Regions from separate parts of the Homo sapiens genome. Here region 1 is linked to region 2. Evidence: promoter capture Hi-C in 16 types of primary human blood cells and fetal thymus (Javierre and others, 2016). All regions are on one chromosome and are shown on one strand. Each heading gives the region's core, a stretch centred on a gene start or on the middle of the fragment in contact. The rest is flanking DNA. Distances are from core to core; before and after follow the strand shown. Region 1 overlaps XPO7 (exportin 7). Region 2 holds the start of BMP1 (bone morphogenetic protein 1).

What was found. The method cuts DNA at HindIII sites, captures the fragments that hold promoters and counts their contacts. A CHiCAGO score of 5 or more calls a contact.
Region 1: a contact is called between a fragment that was not itself captured here and the fragment with the promoter of BMP1 in region 2, in 2 of 17 cell types (naive CD4 T cells and fetal thymus). The highest score is 6.3, in naive CD4 T cells.

Annotation. Positions count from the first base shown.
Region 1 is chr8:21,923,157-21,925,856 of GRCh38, reverse strand. The region is part of intron 1 of XPO7 (exportin 7); the gene reads right to left. Among named protein-coding and RNA genes, the nearest start is that of XPO7, 4.8 kb to the right of the region's middle. The HindIII fragment of the contact is 4,070 bases long and covers 1-2,700 here.
Region 2 is chr8:22,164,122-22,166,940 of GRCh38, reverse strand. BMP1 (bone morphogenetic protein 1) reads right to left here and starts at 1,569. Exons shown (of 20, transcript NM_006129.5): 1 at 1,388-1,569. The coding sequence starts at 1,535. It overlaps SFTPC (surfactant protein C), which reads right to left. Exons shown (of 6, transcript NM_001317778.2): 6 at 2,462-2,675. RefSeq lists a silencer at 1,274-2,313. The HindIII fragment of the contact is 3,783 bases long and covers 790-2,819 here.

The DNA of each region.
Region 1 (2,700 bases), core at 93-2,592, 240 kb after region 2:
GAAATGTTGGTTTGAGCATAAATATTTTAAGGAATTTTACAAACATGTACATATGAATTGAGAACACGGTGCTATATTGGGGAGAGAATACAAGGATGACAACTGGAAATCCCATCCAGAATGCTTGAAGTACAAGGGACTTCACAGATCACTTAATCCAGGCTCAGAGACCAAACGAGTTTCCCAATTAAATGGCATAACACTATAAAAGGCTTAGCATGGTGCCTGGCATATAACAGACACTCAGTTAATACTGGTATCCCCCTTTCCCTATGACCAACCAAGTCACACTCCAGTAAGTCTTACAATAACCACCACCATGAACATCATCTAAATCTTCCAACAGCGAGTTCTCCAGTCTTCCAGGGATACCAGGTCTTTTAATCAGCTTATTTCAAGGAAAATTCTATTACTATTATCTCTATACCGATGTTACATTGCTGCGGTGAGCATTAAATGATATCAATTAATGCTAGCATGAAGTTTCCAATTCTGCCTTCTCTTAAATACATCCTTCCCATTTTATGGCAGTAGGAGTGTGTGTGTGTCCTTGTGTGCATGCACACATGTGCGAAGGGGTGAACAGCCATTGAAGCAAATATCAGAAATACTTAGGATCTAGGTTTTTTACAACTCTCTCCCTCCCCCAAGATTTTGATATGCCTCCTGGGTACCAATCCCATTCCATTGAGAATTTCCTAGTAATGAGTCACTATAAATGTTAGGAATGAATGTATTCCAGACATGTATTGGAATGGGGGAAAAGATAACGGGGTAGTGACTGCCCCCCATTCAGGGACATGTCGACAAAACCAGTCTCACTACAAATTCACAACTCAATGACCAGGCTTGTTGTGATGCTCAATTCAATGTAAGGCCCTGGAAGTAGAATATCACATCTTGTATTTCCTTCTATGTGTCTGCACAGTAACAAAAATGGGATATTAGTAGATGCTTAAGTGGTCACCATTAATCATCCTCAAGAATTTATTTCAATATTTAAAAATTCAGCTTGCATGTAACTCTCCAGGAACATTTATCGTGGTCCTGAACTTGCTTTTCAAATAAGTCAAAAGAGAAATACTTGTAAATCAGTTTCTCAATAAAATGTTGTGAGCATTTTCATCTAAAAAGAAACATATATTTAAACTCTAGTTATCAAGGTTCATGAATGGCCTAAAATTGTGGGTAAAATTTTGTGTAGGCACACTCTCCCCACCCCCACCAGAGAGCAGTAACATAGCTTCCATCATATTATGAAATAAATCCCCCCAAAGCTGTATAATCACTGCTCTGTACTGCTTCTCCCCCTGGCTTTGAAGCTAAAACTCTCAGGTTACTCAGCTTGAGTTCTAAAAGCAGATTTAAAAATAAAATGACAGGATAGTAGTTAGTGGGGTGGGGGGGGGAGGGGGGCTACAGGTAGCTGTTGAGATGGTATCAGGGGACTTCTGGGGCACCGATAATACTGACTTGATTTGGGTGCTGGTTAGTAAGGAGTATTCACTTTGTGAAAATTCATCAAGCTGAACACATATGATTTCTGTACCTGTCTGCAGGTATATATTTCAATAAAAAGTTTTTGAAAAAAATAACAAAGATGGGTCACTTATACACAGCATATATCATTACAGAATTTAATGAAGTCCTTAAAAATGATGCACTAGGAGAGGCCCATTGGTAAAGAACTGCAGCCTCCAGACAACAGCCAGTGAGGAACTGAGGCCTGACCAGGCCCGCTGTGTGTAAACCTAAAGAAAATTCTCTATCCTCAAGTCAAGCCCTGAGATTGACTGCAGCCCGGAGCCCCAGCTGAGAGTTTGACTGCAAATGAGACCCTGAACCAAAACCATCTAGTTAAGCCACTCCCAGATTCCTAACCCTGAGAAAATGTGAGATAATGTTAGGTGTTTTAAAAAGATGCAGTTTCAAAACACTATCTTCCTTGCACATACTGAAGTGGGCAAAGTAGCCTCAGTAGTTGTACCTACAGAGAGACATTAGCTTATTGGTTTAAACTGGCAACTTTCCCACCTCGAAAGGCTGTGGTACAATATTGCTTTCAAAACCCAACCAAGAAAAAAGAAAATACAGCTGGTGGTTATGAACATCAATTTCTGGGTCAAATGGAAGCTAATTTCTCTGTAAGATATAGAACAGGGATCTTCCTGATACTTCTTTCTATACCTTCATCTAAATTAGAGATTCTTCCATCACTGTACTGTATTTTGTTTTTTCTGTGTTAAGTGTTTGAATGATCCCACACGTATATATACATCCCTTAATTTTTCTCAAGGCTTCTCAGGAAATATACTAAAGTCAGAGTAATCAAGTAAATATATAGATATATATGTTTTAAATACAGACATTTCCAGTGTGGTGTTGAATAGGAGTAAAATAATGAAATAAAATACACACATATTATTTGTATAAACCCACGAAAGAGGTATAATCAGGGTGGGAGTGGGTGATGGGATATAGTTATTGCTTATCACCCAACACAGATGTAGCATGTTTTGAAATCAATGTATTCTTTCTTGTATCTACGTGTGTGCTCCTGAAGCCTGCCAAAAGAGCATCAGAATTGGATATTTCAGCAGTCTGGCTCCAGTGTCTTTCTCATTCTGAATCCTCTGAAGTGCCCAGCACAGAAAGGGCCTTGCACACACTAAGCATTCTGGTATTAGTCGAACTGGAAAA
Region 2 (2,819 bases), core at 320-2,819:
CAGCTATAATGAGTAGCAGGGTCAGGATTGAAAGCTAGATGTGCCTGCCTTCAAAGTCCATGCGCAGTCCACTCTGCCCTGTACCCACTCCCAGCCCCCAGCGAGAAAAATGACAGCAAATGTCCTGGTTTACCCGCAGCCCAGCAGGTGTAGAGGGGTAAGGGCTGAGGGATTTGCCCTGATTTCCTCCATTGGATGGTCTCTTATTCCTGCCTGTGGGCCACCCTCCCAGGAGAGTCCCTGAACAGGGTCTCCAGAGCCAGGACTAGAGCAACCTGCCCCTCCGCCCCTGGTGCCCCACACAGGCAGTCCAGTTCTAGCAACTATGCCACTTCCCCTGGCTCTGGCTATTTGGAGATGAGCTGAAGTCAGAGAGGCAGGAAGTCAAGGAAAAGTTCTGATATCTTGTCCCTGTGTGTCCCCAAACAGCCTGCCCAGGGTCATCCAATCAGGCAAATGGCCCGAGTGCCTGGCCATCTGGTCACTCCAGGGGCAGGACCCTTCTGGGCTCAGCAGGAGTGATGGGGTTACATAGAGTCTTCAGAGACAAAGAACACACACACATACAGGCAAACACACACTCCGGGGTCCTGACCTCAGCTAATTAGCCTCTGGTGTCTCGGGGGTGACAGAGCTGATATACAATATCTGGGTTCTCTTTGTATTTTCCCTCTTTCCACCCCAACTTGGCCTTGGCGGGGGTCTCTGGGCACATAGGGACAAAGTTAAGTCCCCCTTCTGGGTTGGCTTCTCTGACTTTGACAGCTGTCTCCTAAGTCCCAGAAAGCTTCAGCTACTGGTTAAACTACGGGATACCCAGAGAGCACGATCTCAGGGAATCCCTGGAAAAACTTTCTTCTTCCACTTGGGCTGGGTGGTGGCTGGGGGACCTGCTCCTTGGAGACTCAGGCCTCCCAGATCCAAGCCAGACAGATGTGCAGCCCCAGGGCAGCCCAGACAGGCTGGAAAACACCCAGCTCCTGGAGCAGGAGAGATGGGGGAGAAGGGGAAAGAACACACACACACACACACACACACACACACACACACACACACACGCACGCACAGGAGTTTGGCCAGAAAAGTTTCCTACAGAAGGAAAAGCCGCCTTGCCCGCCGGTTTTCCCGGGACGCAAGGAGACTTCCTCTGGAATCCTCTGGGAAGATGAGAGGCAGCGGCAGCAGCTTCCACCAACAGCGGCAAAACTTCAGTCCGAAAAGTCCCCCAAATCCCCCTCCCTCTCCCCCTCGTTCTTTTGTTCCCCACTGCATTGCCAACCAGGCAGCTCCCGGCTTCCCACACTGGACTGTCCTCCCCCAACCCCAAGCCCGAACCCGCCCGCGCCTCCCCGCCTGGCCCGTCGCCGGGGGGCCGGGGGGCGCTCACCCGCCTTGCAGGGGTCTTTGTAGTTGAGGGGCTCCGAGTCGTCCTCCTCCGCCAGGTCATAGGTGTAGTCGGCCAAGTCCAGCGGCCGGCCGGGACGCGGGAGCAGCAGCAGCCCGAGCAGCAGCGGCAGGCGGGCCACGCCGGGCATGCTGGCGGGGCGGCGGCGAGGGAAGCGGCGCACTGGAGGCCAGGGGAGGGCGTCCTCTCGCCCGCTTGCTTGCTCGATCGCGACCGCGACCGCTCCCGCCCTCGCTCCCCGACCTCTTCCCCTTCCCTCTGCTCGCCTCCCTCCTTCCTGTCTCCCGCCCCCCGCTCGGTCCGCGGCTCCGCGCTCGTCCTCGGGCTCCAGCCGTCTCCCTCTCCCTTTCCTTCTTTTTCTCTCTTTCTTTCTCTCCCTCCCTCCCTCCCTCCGACTCCCCCCCCCCTTTTTAGGGAAATGAGCTCGCTGGAGGGCGGGTTTTCGCCCGAGCTCTGCCCCCCTCGGGGCCGGGACAGTGCTCGGCCGGGCCGGGCCGCGCGCCAGCCGGGGCGGGGAAGGCGGAGAGCCGCGCGCCCGGGGAGGGGGCTCGGGCCGCCCGGGCCGCGGGCCGCGGGCCGCGAGGCCGGGGCTGGAGCTCGGGCCCCGGGGTGCCGGGAGGGCTGTCCCTCCTGAAGTGCCCTCTAGCGGCGGCCTCCCCCGCGGGCGCGCGGCCGAGCCCCCGCCCCGCCGCGGGACACGCTGTCAGGTCCTCGCGCCGCCCCTGCCCCGCGCCCCCGCCTCGGGTCGGTCTCTCCGCCCGCGTCTCCCTATCTCCCCTTCTTGGACCCTCGCTCTCTCGCGTCTCGCTCTCTGCGCTCTGTCTCTCTCGCTGTCTTGGTGTCTCTCCCTCCTCCGGAGACGCCGCTGGAGGGCGCCGAAAGCCCGTGGATGGCTCCCTGCGAGCCCCTCTCCCCCGCCGAGGTGGACCCAGTGCCCCAGCGCCCTGGGACAGAGGGCGAATGGCAAACCCCACTTTGCTCTCCCAAGGCCCTTCCCTTCTTGGCCGGCCCCCGCCAGGGCAGGACTGCGCCCTGCAGGAAGACAGAAGCAGACCCTTTGCTTTTCAATCAGGCTGCTTTATTCTGTTGTGGCAGGAGTTCCCGGGCCCCTGGGCGCCACCTCTGCCCACTCCCATCCTCTCCCCAAGCTCCCATTTCTCCAGGGCTTGTCCCTGCGGTGTGGGCAGAAGCAGCTTCTTGCCCGTCTGCAAAAGCTGCAAAAGACCCTTTGCCCGGGGCGTTTCCTTTCCCGTTGGGGCTTCCACTGACCCTGTGAAGCAAAGGAATGTTGAGGATGGACAGAGAGAATCAGGGGAGTGGGAAGTACCGGTCTGTGAGCTTCCCCTCCCCCGAGTTGCCTGGATGACCCCGCTTCAGTGGACGCCCCAGCGCCTGGTCAGCGCGAGCGCTCCTC